Regions from separate parts of the Homo sapiens genome. Here regions 2 and 3 are each linked to region 1. Evidence: promoter capture Hi-C in 16 types of primary human blood cells and fetal thymus (Javierre and others, 2016). All regions are on one chromosome and are shown on one strand. Each heading gives the region's core, a stretch centred on a gene start or on the middle of the fragment in contact. The rest is flanking DNA. Distances are from core to core; before and after follow the strand shown.

Evidence for each region. The method cuts DNA at HindIII sites, captures the fragments that hold promoters and counts their contacts. A CHiCAGO score of 5 or more calls a contact.
Region 2: a contact is called between a fragment that was not itself captured here and the fragment with the promoter of SOWAHD in region 1, in 4 of 17 cell types (fetal thymus, total B cells, naive B cells and 1 more). The highest score is 9.9, in fetal thymus.
Region 3: the fragment with the promoter of SLC25A43 here is called in contact with the fragment with the promoter of SOWAHD in region 1 in 3 of 17 cell types (fetal thymus, naive CD8 T cells and endothelial precursors); the score reaches 5.8 in fetal thymus.

Annotation. Positions count from the first base shown.
Region 1 is chrX:119,755,537-119,760,432 of GRCh38, forward strand. SOWAHD (sosondowah ankyrin repeat domain family member D) reads left to right here and starts at 3,052. Exons shown (of 1, transcript NM_001105576.3): 1 at 3,052-4,666. The coding sequence starts at 3,132. The coding sequence ends at 4,079. RefSeq lists enhancers at 576-635, 646-845 and silencers at 2,802-2,951, 3,062-3,361. The HindIII fragment of the contact is 2,232 bases long and covers 2,163-4,394 here.
Region 2 is chrX:119,492,721-119,497,519 of GRCh38, forward strand. No RefSeq gene overlaps it. Among named protein-coding and RNA genes, the nearest start is that of SLC25A5-AS1, 26 kb to the left of the region's middle. The HindIII fragment of the contact is 595 bases long and covers 992-1,586 here.
Region 3 is chrX:119,397,550-119,401,883 of GRCh38, forward strand. It overlaps SLC25A43 (solute carrier family 25 member 43), which reads left to right and starts at 1,787. Exons shown (of 5, transcript NM_145305.3): 1 at 1,787-2,129. The coding sequence starts at 1,855. RefSeq lists a silencer at 1,651-2,310. The HindIII fragment of the contact is 2,295 bases long and covers 371-2,665 here.

The DNA.
Region 1 (4,896 bases), core at 1,802-4,301:
GGGTTTCACCGTGTTAGCCAGGATGGTCTCGATCTCCTGACCTCGTGATCAGCCTGCCTCGGCCTCCCAAAGTATTGGGATTACAGGCATGAGCCACCGCGCCCAGCCGATCTCTTCTAGTTCTAATAGTCCAAGATCTAGTAAATAAACCCACAAATATATTAGAGAGGCTGCTATTTGGAAAAGACATCAGTATTATTACAATTTGCAATGCAAATATCTACTCTACCTCCAGCTTTTTGGGAAGTCATTTCCCAGGGCTTGAGGGGTTTTTGCCCCACTCCCTTGGAGGGGTAGCAGATGTTTCAGATAACTGGCATGTTAATTTTAGGTGGGTGGGTACTATCCCTTCTGTTTTCCACTCCCTCTGCCCTACTCCCTGCTATCAAATTCCTGAGACCCTCTCTACTAAAATAGAGATGGGTGTTGCGGTTCTGGGGAGTGGTGTGTGCAGCTGGTGACCTAGGGTAGAAAGCACTTGCTAATTAAAGATGAAACAAGTTGCTAGGGAGGCACCGTGGCTTTGGTCTCTAGCAGCAGAGTTAAGCAAGGGCACATGTATCATGGGTCTGTGGCACTGGTCAGGCGGCTGCCTTTGCAATCTTTGAACTGGAAACAGATATTATTCATGCTGATAGGGAAGAGAGTTGCCTGCTTAGTGGTGACGAAAATTAATAGTCCAAGCATTCTTCCATCCTGCATTTTCCATGCTGGCATTTTGACTTAAAAAAAAATATTGCTGCAGCTGTTTGCATATTCTGGAAGTGTGTGTGCCTGTGTGCGGTTTGGTGTTTACAGATCTGGGGTTGCGGAGAGGAGTCTCCAGAGCAACGGAAGTAGCTGCTTGTCAGTCAGGATTCATTTTGAAAATGAAAGCCTGAAAGCTTGGGGCCCATTCTGGGCCTAGGCCTGGTCTCTGAGAAGTCAGCGAAGGCCAGGAGGTGGCTTTGGCCAGTCAACTCAGTGAATAAACCACTGAATCTCTTTTAAAGAAAAATGAATTGACCAAATCTATGAGTTGCTTTTGATGTCCTGCAGATTGGAGTCTGGAGCAGGGATGTGGGAGCAGGCATTGAGGTGCTGATTGTGGATACATGTCCCCCGCCCCCAACATACACACACACAATCACATTTTCCCAGCCTGCCAAACCAGAACAAGGTAACAAATATTTCTTGGATAACTACTAGGTGCACAAGGATAGTATGACATAGCTGTCCAAGAGTTTATAGTTTAATTGGCATATGAGAGCAAGGGGAGAGAGATGTAACACAAGGCAGTCTTGGGGCCAAAGAAGTAGCAGAAACACAGGGCTGGGGAAAGAGAGGGATCACTTTGGGCTGGGATAATCAGAGGAGGCTTGCTAGAGGTGGAAACTAAGCGCAACCTTGAAAGAAAAGAACTTCACTACATAGAAGCTCTTCCAGGCAGAGGAGTGTAAGTTATAGATACGCTCACGTTACAAGTCTATCCTTTTGGCTGGAATTTGGGGCTTGTATGTGATTTGCAGTTGATAAGCCAGGCTTGAATGCCAGTTCCTGTGTACCAGAACAAAGGCTATGGTGTCGCACAGACCTGCTCTGCCACTTCCTGCTGGGTGACCTTGAGCAAGTAGCCTAACCTCTCTGCAAACTGGGGACAGTAATGATTCCCAGCACTTGAGGTCACTGGGAGGATTAAAAGAGTTAACATATATAACGCAACAAGCACAGTGCCTGGCACATAGTAAATGTTCAAAACCAAATTACAAATGCATAAACTGTTCTGAAGGAAAGCTCTAGATATTTAGGACTTGTTCCAAATACGTGAGGGCCAAGGAAGAAAAGCTTCCGATACCTTCTATCACTGCTGCCACAGGTGGCCCCGAGGGAGTGGGCTGATTTGGCCTGAGCCTCCATCCCCCTTGGCCTAGACTGCTGGAACAGTCTTCCGACTTCCTGCCTCTGCACCTCCCAAATCACCTTTTTAACACAACCTCCATCATGGCTGTGTCTCTCCCCGGCTCAACAATCTTCTATGGCTCCCCGTTGCTCACTGACTGAGCTCCTTAAGATGCTGGGGGTGTGGAGGCAAGAACCACTATTTACTAAGGGAAGGGAAGAGCAAAGAGTACGCTGGTATTAGGAGTGAAAAAGAAAAAATATCCTTTTTTAAAAAGCCCCTAAGCTTTGAATTTGTAGAAAGCGGGGCCCTGGGGAGAGAGCAGGGATGCATCTCTAAAGAGAACAGGGCGCTCCTGCGGCGCCGGCTCAGATTCACCTGTAGCTGCTTCTCCAAGCCAACCTGGGAAAATTGACGGGAGGGAAGAGGGTGGAGAGCAGGACAGAGAGGGCGGTGCAGAAGGGGAATATCCCTCCTGAGTTCCCTGGAAGAGCGTCAGCCTGGACCCTGGTCTTGGGCTTCTCTGCTGGAATCCTGGGCAGCCCCGGGTGCTGCGGCGAGGGTCAAGGCCACACAAAGGGCAAGGCAGGCAGACGAGCCAGTCACATGGGGCAGTCGAGCTGCCTGCGTGAATGCTAGGCGCGGGACAATGGCAACTCCGGGACAAAGTGCAGGGAGACTCCTGAAGAGATAAGAGGGAAGGGCGAAGGAAGGGGGCGGGGAGCCAGAGCCTCGGAGCTCCAGGACCGCGCTTTGGGAGACCGTGGCTGGAAGCCGAGCTCGGCCCGCTGCGGAAGGGGCGCCCTCGCGCCTCTACACTCTAGCCCCGGCTGGGATGCTGAGAACCGCGGCTTCCAGGGCCGCAGGCGAGCTCCCAGCCAGTCCCCGCGCCCGCCCTTCGGTGCTGGAGGCGGGGCTGCCGAGCTCACCTGGCCGTTTGGGGTGGGACCGCCCGCGACCCGGGGGAGCTGCAGAGGCGGCGGTACCCAGGGAAGTGGAGCTGGGCTTGCCCTGGGGACTTGGCTGGAGCTCACACCCCTCCACGCCCCCCAAGGCCTGCGCGGGGGCCCTCCCCTAGCTCCCTCCCTCCTCCTCCTCCTCCTCCTCCTCCTCTCCTTTGCTCCCTCCCTCCGAACCCAATTGCTCAAGCAGCTTCCTTCCCCAACGCCAGCGCCAGTTCCTCTCCCGTTGGGGCCCGGGAAGGGCAGCTAACGCTGGACACTGGGACGGCCGCGGCGGCAGCTTCAAGACCATGGCCCAGCTCGGAGGGGCCGCGAACCGGGCACCCACGGCCTCTCTCGCGCCGACCTCGCAGAGCCTGCGGTGCGCCCCGCAGCCCCGCCCCTCGAGAGCGGACACTGGTAGCCTGGGCAGGTACTGGGGCAAAGCCGCAGCCGCCGCCTCCCGGGAGCACCCCTTCCCAGGCACGCTGATGCACTCTGCAGCGGGCTCAGGGCGCCGGCGGGGAGCGCTGCGGGAACTGCTGGGGCTGCAGCGGGCGGCTCCTGCGGGGTGGCTGTCGGAGGAGCGCGCCGAGGAGCTGGGCGGGCCGAGTGGGCCGGGCAGCAGCAGGCTGTGCCTGGAACCGCGGGAGCACGCGTGGATTCTGGCAGCCGCCGAGGGCCGCTATGAGGTGCTGCGGGAGCTGCTGGAGGCTGAGCCGGAGCTGCTGCTGCGGGGCGACCCGATCACCGGCTACTCGGTTCTGCACTGGCTGGCCAAGCACGGGCGCCACGAGGAGCTCATTCTGGTACACGATTTCGCCCTACGCCGGGGGCTGAGGCTCGACGTGAGCGCCCCAGGCAGCGGCGGCCTCACGCCCCTCCACCTGGCGGCCCTTCAGGGCCACGACATGGTCATCAAGGTGCTGGTGGGCGCCCTGGGTGCTGACGCTACGCGCCGCGACCACAGCGGCCACCGGGCCTGCCACTACCTGCGGCCCGACGCGCCTTGGAGGTTGCGGGAGCTGTCGGGAGCCGAGGAATGGGAGATGGAGAGCGGCAGCGGGTGCACCAACCTGAACAACAACAGCAGTGGCACCACTGCGTGGAGGGCCGCGAGCGCAGTGGGCGCGACGGCTGTGGAGACAAGCAGGAGAGTGGCAGCGTCGCGGACCAAGGCGAAGGACACCGCGGGCAGCCGGGTGGCGCAAATGCATAGCCTTTTCCGCCATCTGTTCCCCTCATTCCAGGACCGTTGACAGGGACAGAGACTGGAGAGCTAGGAGGGGCTGTGACACTGTGGCGATGGCTAGGTCCTGGGTTGTCCCGGGTTCCACCGAAGGAGAGGCGCCTTGGACGCTGCTTGGGCCTGCAAGGAACAGAACACGTCGGGGTCCGACTCAGGTACTTGTCTCAGGTCTCCTGTAACCACCGGCCTGGAGGACCCGGGGACTCGGGCACCACCTCACCAAGAGAGAGTGAAGGACCAAGCTGGCCTGGCTCCGAGTTCCAAAGCTACAGGACTAAGGAGTTGGGAGCAGGGAGCGTGGTCCTGCTTGGGAGAGGGCAAGTTAAGCTTCCAGGGGCCATTTCTGGGCAGGCCGACGCGCTGGGTTTATTAGGAAACATTCGCTAGAAGAATGAGTTAAGATTGTAAACCACCAATGCAGAGAAAACGCCTAACTCTGCCGGCCTCGCTCGGCCATTAATGGGTCTTGGGGTGCGGGTAGAGTCAGCCTCTGACAACCTCCTCCTGAGACGACCCAGCCTTACTGGTACTTTTTCTCATGTATCACAGGTTACTTCTTATGTATATTAAAGTGGAATATGTGTTCTTTTCACATGACAAGGCTGTCCTTTCAGTGTTTTCCCCCACCTCCCTTACTAACCACAAAGGAAGAAACTGCATATGTTTGCAGGGTAGAGGTCACCCAACCATGGCCGTGATGTTGTGCCCCCCGGGGCAGGCTCTGGGCCTCCTTCTCAGAACAAATGGCCAGAGCTGTGCACAGAAGAAGCTACTTCCACTTGGATCTGAGGAGAAACATACAGTTCACCTCTGTCCTGAGCTCTTTG
Region 2 (4,799 bases), core at 39-2,538, 260 kb before region 1:
TAAATAGTTGTTACTGACACAGTCACCTTTGTCTGTGAGGGGAGGAGGAGGCCAATGCCTATGGAAGGACAAAACTCCTTCAGCCTTAGGCAGGTCTTACCTGCCCCTGCATTCTTGTCAGGTTATATATTGCTCTTGTGATGTGTTTGGAAAAAGACAAGAAAACATACTTTTTTTTTTTTCTTCTAGCCAGGACCTCTGGCTAGAGGTAGAGGGACTTCTTAGACGTCACTATCATGGCTGAAGCCTCAATTCTGTCCTAAGCCAGGAAACCAAATTGGTAAATTTGGTCTTTTTTTTTTTTTGACAGGGTCTCACTCCTGTCTCCCAGGCTGGAGTGCAGTGGCACAATCTCAACTCACTGCAGCCTCGATAGCCCAGGCTCAAGTGATCCTCCCACCTCAGCCCCTCAAGTAGCTGGAATTACAGGCATGAGCTACCACGGCCGGCTAATTTTTGTATTTTTAGTAGAGACAGGGTTTCTCCATGTTGGCCAGGCTGGTCTCGAACTCCTGACCTCAGGCGATCTGCCGGCCTGGGCCTCCAAAGTGCTGGGATTACAGGCGTGAGCCATCATGCCTGGGCTAGTAAATTCAGTCTTTATATCATGGTTCCTCCATTGTTGTCAATAACTCTAGCACTGTGAACATGCTTTTGTGAGCTGATGCTGCTATTTACTTCTCTATTTACACATTTACGTATTTGTGTCTCCCTGATACCACATTTATCTTTTGAATGGGTAATATATTGGTAATATATCCTCGGATACCAAATTGACAAGGTATAAAGGGTTTACAGTAACAAGTTAGTTTCCCTCCCACCCCTGTTCCCTCGCCACCCACAGGTAATCTCCATGACCACATTCTGGTGTTACCTTCCAGAGATAAGCTATGCCTATCCAGGCATCTATTATTTTAGGTGGTAGCATTCTTACTCATATTTGTATCCCAGTGCGTAGAGGAGTGCCAAACAAAAGTATGCTGTCAAAAAAAGCTTGTTGGTTGCATGTTTGTTGCTCCAGATTTGTTGCCCTCATCCCAGCCATGGGTGCCTGAACTCTCTAGTTGAAATTTTCATGAGCTTATCAAAATTTTACCTGGGGCCAAGCGCGGTGGCTCATGCCTCTAATCCCAGCACTTTGGGAGGCCGAGGCAGGCGGATCACGAGGTCAGGAGTTCGAGACTAGCCTGGCCAACATGGTGAAACCTCGTCTCTACTAAAATTACAAAAAAAATTAGCTGGGCGTTGTGGCGGGTGCCTGTAATCCCAGCTACTTGAGAGGCTGAGGCAAGGAGAATCGCTTGAAGCTGGGAGGCAGAGGTTACAGTGAGCTGAGATTGCGCCATTGCACTCCAGCCCAGGCAAGAGTGTGAGACTCCGTCTCAAAAAAAAAAAAAAAATTTTTTTTTTTTTTTTTTTACCTGTTTGGACTTGCAGCTCTGGCTTTATTTTCTCCAGACTGAAATTTACAAAGAAGCTACTGGGGCCTTGCCTAATATAAACAAGTTATTCTCCTTCACAATAGAACTCTAAAGAGCACCCTGATGCATGAATTTTCTTCCCTGCTCTGTTCAGTGTAAAACAGAAGCTTAGCCCCAGCTCCTCTTTGTTAGGTGACTGTTCCCTGAGGCAAGGGTTAAAGAGACTTTGATGCTGCTCATCTTAGGGGAGTCTCTAAGCATACTCATCTCAGAATTCTGGCTCAGGAAATAAAATGCAGGAGTTTCCACTGCAGTATTCCTCAGTCCTTGACAGAGCTGGGTTTTCCAGAAGCATCCAGACAGCAGTGCCACCTTCATATTCTCTCATATTCTCTCTCTCTCTCTCTCTCTCACACACACACACACACACACATTTTTTTTCTCCCTGATGTGGCTAGGGGACAGGCTGGACTCCTGCACTTGATCCATATAAAAGAACCTAAGGAAGAAAGAAAAAGGGAGGAGTAAGAGGGCCACTCCCTGTCCTGTTCTATGATCACGAGGCTTGTAAACTCAAGGAGGCAGCAGGGCAGAGTGCCGAAGCAAACAGAGGCTGCCTGGGCTGGAATCCTGACTCTGCCATTTATCGCCTGTGTGACTTTGAAACCACCTTTGCAAAATTATAACTGAGGAAGTTATGATAGTGAAAGAAAACAGACCTAACCGATTCCATCTTGCTTCTAACCTTTAAGCTGTCCTTGTTCATTCCTGGGCATAGGCCGAACTCTCCATTGCAATTCCCCTGTCTTGATAAATCGTCTCTATCTAGGCAGTGAGCAAGGTGAACCCACTGGGTGGTTACAACTTTGGACAAGTTATTTAACCTCTGTCTGCTTCCATTTCTTCCACCGTAAAATGGGGATAACTGTACCTACTTTAAAAGACTTGTTATGAGGATTCAGTGAGTTAACAGATTGCAATGCATTTAGAACGGTGCCTGGGCATGTGGTAAGTGCAATATACATGCTATTTATTTATTTATTGTTTTTATTTTATTTTATTTTTGAGACGGAGTCTCACTCTGTGGCCCAGGGTGGAGTGCAATGGCGCGATCTCGGCTCACTGCAACCTCTACCTCCTGGGTTCAAGCAATTCTCCTGCCTCACCCCCCAAGTAGCTGGGACTACAGGTGCCCACCACCATGCCCAGCTAATTTTTGCATTTTTAGTAGGCACAGGGTTTCACCATGTTGGCCAAGCTGACCTCAAACTCCTGACCTCAGGTGATCTACCTGTCTTGGCCCCCTAAATTGCTGGGATTACAGGCGTGAGCCACTGCACCCCGCCTATACATGCTTTTTAAACAAAAAGAAAAACGTCCATGTCAGTGGTTCCCGTGTTCGATGCATGTCCCTCTATTCCCTGGCTGTAAGTTTCAAGGTTTTCACTTACCGATCTTGGGCCCTTTGGTGCATTTTTTTTCCTATTGGGAAAAAGCTAAATGTTGTGTTGTATGGTGCATTTCTTACACAGAAAGGAAAAACTAAAAAATAGCCTGTATCTAGGCTAAAATTCCTGTATAGAGGCAAGATTGTGTCATCTAAAGTTCTTACTACATTGACTTTTTCCTGATGCTGTTCTTGGGGCCCCCACTCTGCCTCTAGAGGGCTGGTAAGAGTCCACAGGAGAGCTTCCCAAGCCAGTGCCTTTTAGGAAGAGTTGCTGTGGCTACTGAGCTGATCAAAGGTCTCAGCCTCCACAAAGAAGCATGTGCTGCTGTGGCAATGGGCCTGAGGGTACGGGGGCCCCAGGGTTGCAGGGCAAGACAACAATCCGGAATCCAGCTGTTGTCTCGGCCATCATCTGAGGTCATCCTGCCAGATTGGCAGGCTGTGCCCTAGACCACAGAGGTAGCCCCTGCTCTTCAAAGGGCTGGATTGTCAGCCCAGCCCCTCCTAGGCCTTCTCTTCAGGCTTCTTCTTTCTACATTATCCCAACACAAACAGCTTGACTTCCAAGTGACATTGCACCAGAAAGACTTCCAAAGTCAGCTCACCTATCCTAGGGATCTAGCCCGGCCAGGGGCTCCTATGAGGGATTCCATAGGAGGAGTCAGAGACTGTCATCTAGGAAGGCTTCAGAGCTTCAGGATAGGTCCTGGGCAACCCTTGATCGCCCTCAGAGACTCACTCAGGTTTTGGCGTCCCTCGGTTACAGAAACCCTCATGACCCTAATCACATTGCAACTGCATTTCCTTCCTGTGCCTCGGGCTCAGTCAGGGTTGGGCCCAGGTGTGCCAGAACAGCAGGCGTTCAAAAAGCACATCGCTTGCTTCTCAGATCTTGCTCACAAACAGTTTTGTGCAGTTCTATGGAAAGGAAAAAAAAAAAGTGTACCCTTAACAACCAATATACACATACAGACTCATTCAGTGAACATTTGTTGAGTGTCTGTTATGAACAAGGTCCTGTACCAAGTACCAAGGGGAGGGGAAGAGGATGCAAAGTTGACTTAAGCATAGTCCTTTCCCTTAAGGACTTTGTCCTCTGCCAGAGAAGCCAGTCACACATATATAAATGGAATTAGTTTATTAGTTTAATAAAGTGGAATTAAAACAAGCTGTAACATAAGACCAAACTATTTATTGACTTGACATTTGCTGAACAGATATTGTGGGCCAGGCACTGTACTAGGAGCAAGGGATACACAGCAGAGAAGAAGAGAGAAAAAATCCTACCCTTATGGAGCTTATATCCCAGTGAAGGAGGCAGAGAAGTAAGAATTACAATATAGTGTGACAAGAGTGTTAAGAGGGGTCAGCAGACTGAGATTTGGGAGCAAAGAAGGAAGAATGTTTAACTAACTGACATTTGGGGAATCTGGAAACACTTCCGAGAGAAAGCTCCATCTCGGCCGGGCGCGGTGGCTCACACCTGTAATCCCAGCACTTTGGGAAGCCGAAGTGGGCAGATCACTTGAGGCCAGGAGTTCGAGACCAGCCTGGGCAACATGGCAAAACCCTGTCTCTACTAAAAATACAGAAATTAGCTGGGTGTGGTGGCACACACCTGTAATCCCAGCTACTCGGGGAGCTGAGGCAGGAGAATTCCTTGAACCCAGGAAGCAGAGGTGGCAGTGAGTCAAGATCTCACTACTGCACTCCAGCCTGGTTGACAGAGCAAGATTGTGTCTCAAGAAAAAAAGGAAGTGCCATCTCAACCACAGCTGCCATGTGGCATGGCTACAGTGTGAATGTTGTGCATTACCAATTGTAACAGCCCAGGCTGAAGGATAAATAGGAGTTAGCCAATAGTACTTAGCAGGTGTGGAGAACCAAAAGTGGTTCAAAATGGCTAGAGTGCAAGGGCCATCTGGCAA
Region 3 (4,334 bases), core at 537-3,036, 360 kb before region 1:
TGGCACATGCCTGTAGTCCCAGCTACTTAGGAGGCTGAGGCAGGAGAATCGCTTGAACCTAGGAGGCAGAGGTTACAGTGAGCCAAGACCATGCCACTGCACTTCACCCTGGGCGACAGAGCGAGACTCTGTCTCAAAAAAAAAAAAAACATAACTTGGCTGACCCAATCTCCATACAATGGGGTTATCACATGAAATGTTCCAGACCCACGAACTTCCTGAAAGAGCTTTAGAATCTTGTCCCGTTATCCAACAAAGGGCTTTAGGAAGTACCAGTACCCGAAGGTTTCCTTATTGTAATCCCCAAATTCCAATTCAAGCCCTTTTAAAGTCGGGGTCCTCCGGTCTTCAGAGTCATACATCTTTCTCAAGCTTCCCCCAGCCATCAAATTAGCTTACAACAAGACAGAAGAATTCACAAAACATGAAAATAAGCATTCCCCAATTGTTGAGAGCAGAGTATGGCTTCTGCAACTAGAACAAGTTCTCACAGTCAAAACCTTGTAATGTCATACTCAAGTGAGATTGACAGTGAAAAATAAAAAAGGAGAAACCCTGCAATGCCTTTTAGAAAACGTTCCTATAGCATTGTGTGTTAGTAAATGTAAATAACTATACAAGCCTAAAAACAACTATGTACCCGGAACATCTTGCTCACACCAACAGACTGCTGACAGTTCCTTTCCTTGTAATTATTAGTGACATGGCTTTTTTAGAAAAAAAAGAGACAGAAAGAAATTCTGAAATTCTGAAATTTTTGAACTGATTAAAGAATCCTCGGATTCTGGCCAAGCCTCTCTTAGCCATTCTTTGCCTCTATTGTTCTCTTAGCTTACAGAACCACTGAAAATGTCCCTACTGGAGTTAACTCTGCAGTCCTAGTAGACATATAGTGTAGCCGTTAGTGGAAACTGACATAAACCGCCCTAGATTTCAAACCGGTCTCTGCTTTGTAGGTAGCTGTGTGAGCCTGAGCAAGTCCTCTCTGTGTCTTGGTTTCCTCTCCTGTAAATGAATACCTAATCAGAACTAACACATATAAACTGCTTACCCATACCAGTCATTGTTCATTAATCCTTACAACAACCCCTAGGAGGAAAAAATTATAATCTCTGTTTTATAAAGCAACTGACACACAGAGAGGTTGAGTGACTTCCCCAAGGTCCCACAGCTGGTAAGCTGCAGAGCCAAGAATCTTACACAGGTTCAAGAGTCCAGATTCAAGTCCCCACACCCACACAGCCTCTGTCAATGAGGACATACGTACTTAGGGCCGTTTTGAGGATTACATGAGAACGTCTGTAAAGCCCAGTACTTGACAAGTGCCTGAGAGATAGCAACTGTGGTTGTTAGAATTTTTTACCTTCTGCACTGGGAAACCATCAAGGCTTTTTGGTTAGGCAGGAAAAAAAAATGGGTTGGAGGCAAGAGGAGGAGGAGGGAAGCGCCAGGGGAGGAAGACAGAGAAGTGGCACGTGAAAGGGAGAAAAGGGGCAAACCAGAGGAGAGGCAGGGAGGGGCGGCGGGGGCGCACTGAACATTTAGGAAGCAAGATGTCTAGCAGGCTGGGCCTTGAGAGAACAGTAACTGTTTCGCAACTGAAAGTCGCTACTCGAGCCTTGCCAACTGGGGAGACTATGCCCATGATATCCGCGGCCTCGGACCCCGGACCCTCCAGGCCCTCGCGCCCCACCCCCGACCAGCCTCGGGCCAGGCTAGGGCGTAGACGGGGCTTCCCGTCCCTCACGCGGGCCCGCCCCATGCCGGGCGGGGCCTGGGGCCCGCCACCTCCGCCCGTGGCCGGAGAGCCCCAGGCCCGAGCCACGCGGTCTTCCGGGCCCGGGTCGGGGCTCGATGGCTACGTGGAGGCGGGACGGCCGACTGACAGGCGGCCAAAGGCTGCTGTGCGCTGGGCTGGCGGGGACGCTCAGCCTCAGCCTCACCGCGCCCCTGGAGCTCGCCACCGTGCTGGCCCAGGTTGGCGTCGTGCGAGGCCACGCCCGGGGACCGTGGGCCACAGGGCACCGGGTGTGGCGGGCAGAGGGGCTCCGGGCCCTGTGGAAGGGGAACGCGGTGGCGTGCCTGCGCCTCTTCCCCTGCAGCGCCGTGCAGCTCGCCGCCTACCGCAAGTAAGAGCCGGGCGGGGCCGGGGAACCGGGAGACCGGACGGGGGTGGGGTGGGGGAGCCGCGGCCCGACGCCGCCCTGCTGCCTGGACTCGGGGCCCTGGAGTAGGGACGGCCCCCTTGTCGATCACCTGGGGACCCCTCGGGGCGGTGGGCCACCTCTATGGCCCCCAGAGTGCAGCCCCAATGCTTTTCACGTTCTCTTGGGGTTACCGCCCTGCAAGATGCAGTTTTGTGGTCCGCAGCCCTGGTCCGAGAGGCTTTCCGGATTGGACCGGGCGAGGAGGTGGAATGCAGCAAAGGATTTGGAGGAAAGGAATGAAAAGCTCTCCAGAGAGATGAGTCCTAACCATTTCCACCGTCCTCCAATTTGGAAACTTTTGCTTAGGCTGGCTTAGGAAGAGAGAGACCCTTTTAAAGGTGTTTTTGTCTGTGTGACCCAAGCCCCGAGAAGAAAGTGCTTGGTGTGGGGAAAGGACCCGATCCATCGATACGAAAAGGCCGCAGATTTTTGCCCACACATCTCCCCAACTTAAATGAAGCTTGACTTCAGGCTCCGACAGAGGCTGCAGCTTCCCCTCCCCAAGCTGAGAACGGCCCCCTCAGCCTACCGCTTCACCCCACTGGCCTCATTTATTTGGGCCTTTTCCACCTTCTCCCACATCAACAGCTGCTCCTTAGGAAAAGATCTAAAGGTGTAAATGCAGCCTTAAAGCTTCCACCGAGCTCAGAGGTACCTGCATTTGAACTGGAAACCAAGCCTGAAAGAATGAATTGGTAGTGATGGCATTTCAGGAAGCAGAGATGTTTCTGTATTGGGGGGACGGTCCCTGTGTTCCTCATTCAGTGGGCACAGTGGCATCTTTGATATCGCCTTGGCTCTGAATTAGACAAACAGCCCACATTTGGGAGAGTCGGTCTTGACCGCATAGTTTAGTCTTGGCGGCTAATAGTCAAAGGATTTTGCCTTGACACTGTCACTCACCTGGGAGGCCAGAGGTGGAAGGCTCACCTGGCAGCCGACAAGCCGAACGGAATCATCCTTATTACCTAGGCCTCTAGGCCAGTACTCATTTTGCCTCTGCCTGGAAATAGAGTTCCCTTCTCTTCCTCTGCAGAGGGACTCATGGGTGGGACCATGACATTTAGTTAAGGCCCTTTTTCCTCCCCACCTCTGCTTGCCCTCATCAACATCTGGCCTGCAGTCTGTAAACAGTTCTCCTCTGAGTCTTAATGACTCAGTTTCTCCCCCACTTCACCCTCTTCTCTACAAAGTAGTGTGGAAATCTTCCTTTGGATGGGATAAAATATGTCCAGAGGGGTGGGGGGCAGAACTTCAAAGGCTGGTTTAAGTATTGTGGCTCTTCTGCTAAGCACCTAGTATATGCACATTAGATTTTTTAAGCTCCTGCCTCCTGCCCTGTAAGGTCCATAGGACAGGAAGCATTGTGCCTGTTTTACAGATGCAGAATTGGGCTCAGAGTGATGACACCTCTTGTCAGTGACCGAGCTGAGCTCCACTACCTGGCCTTCTGACTCCAAATCTCATAGTCTTTCTGTTACATCATGCTGCCTCCCTGCATCCATTTGACACTAATTTAGTCAGGCTACATTAAGTCCCCACTGTGTGCACGATGCTGAGGACAATGCCAGGATGGAAGGGGCATGGTCCCTGTGCCCCAGGAGCTTACAGAGTAATAGAAGAGTAAGACTAATATGTCCATGACCATAACACACAAGGTAGCATGTGATTGTCATGGATAATGTGCTCTAGAAATGTACCCTTCTGATGAGCGATGAGGAGGAGAAAATGTGAAGACTTCATAGAGGAGAAAAAAATTTGAGTTTGGCATTGGGAGAATGAGGAGTCTGCTGGGCAGAGATGGAGAGAAAGATACTGCAGTTGATGTCAGCAAATGCACAGAGGTGGGAAGGCAAGCAGCACAACAGGAAGTCCAACCAGAAAAGCAGGTTGGAATGAGATATTAGAGGGTTGGATTAAGGGATTTGGACTTGACTTGGTATCCAAGGGTAGCTGTGGGAGGTTTTTGTGGGGGGTGGGGGGAGGTGTGTTGTGATTAAAGCAATTCAATGGAAATGATCGTCACATCGTGGCAGAGTAAGATGACTAGAGAGGAGGAAGAGTGGAGACAGCAGGGCCAGTTAGGAACCTGTTGCACTAGTCCACATAGCAGCTGAGGGCACCGGC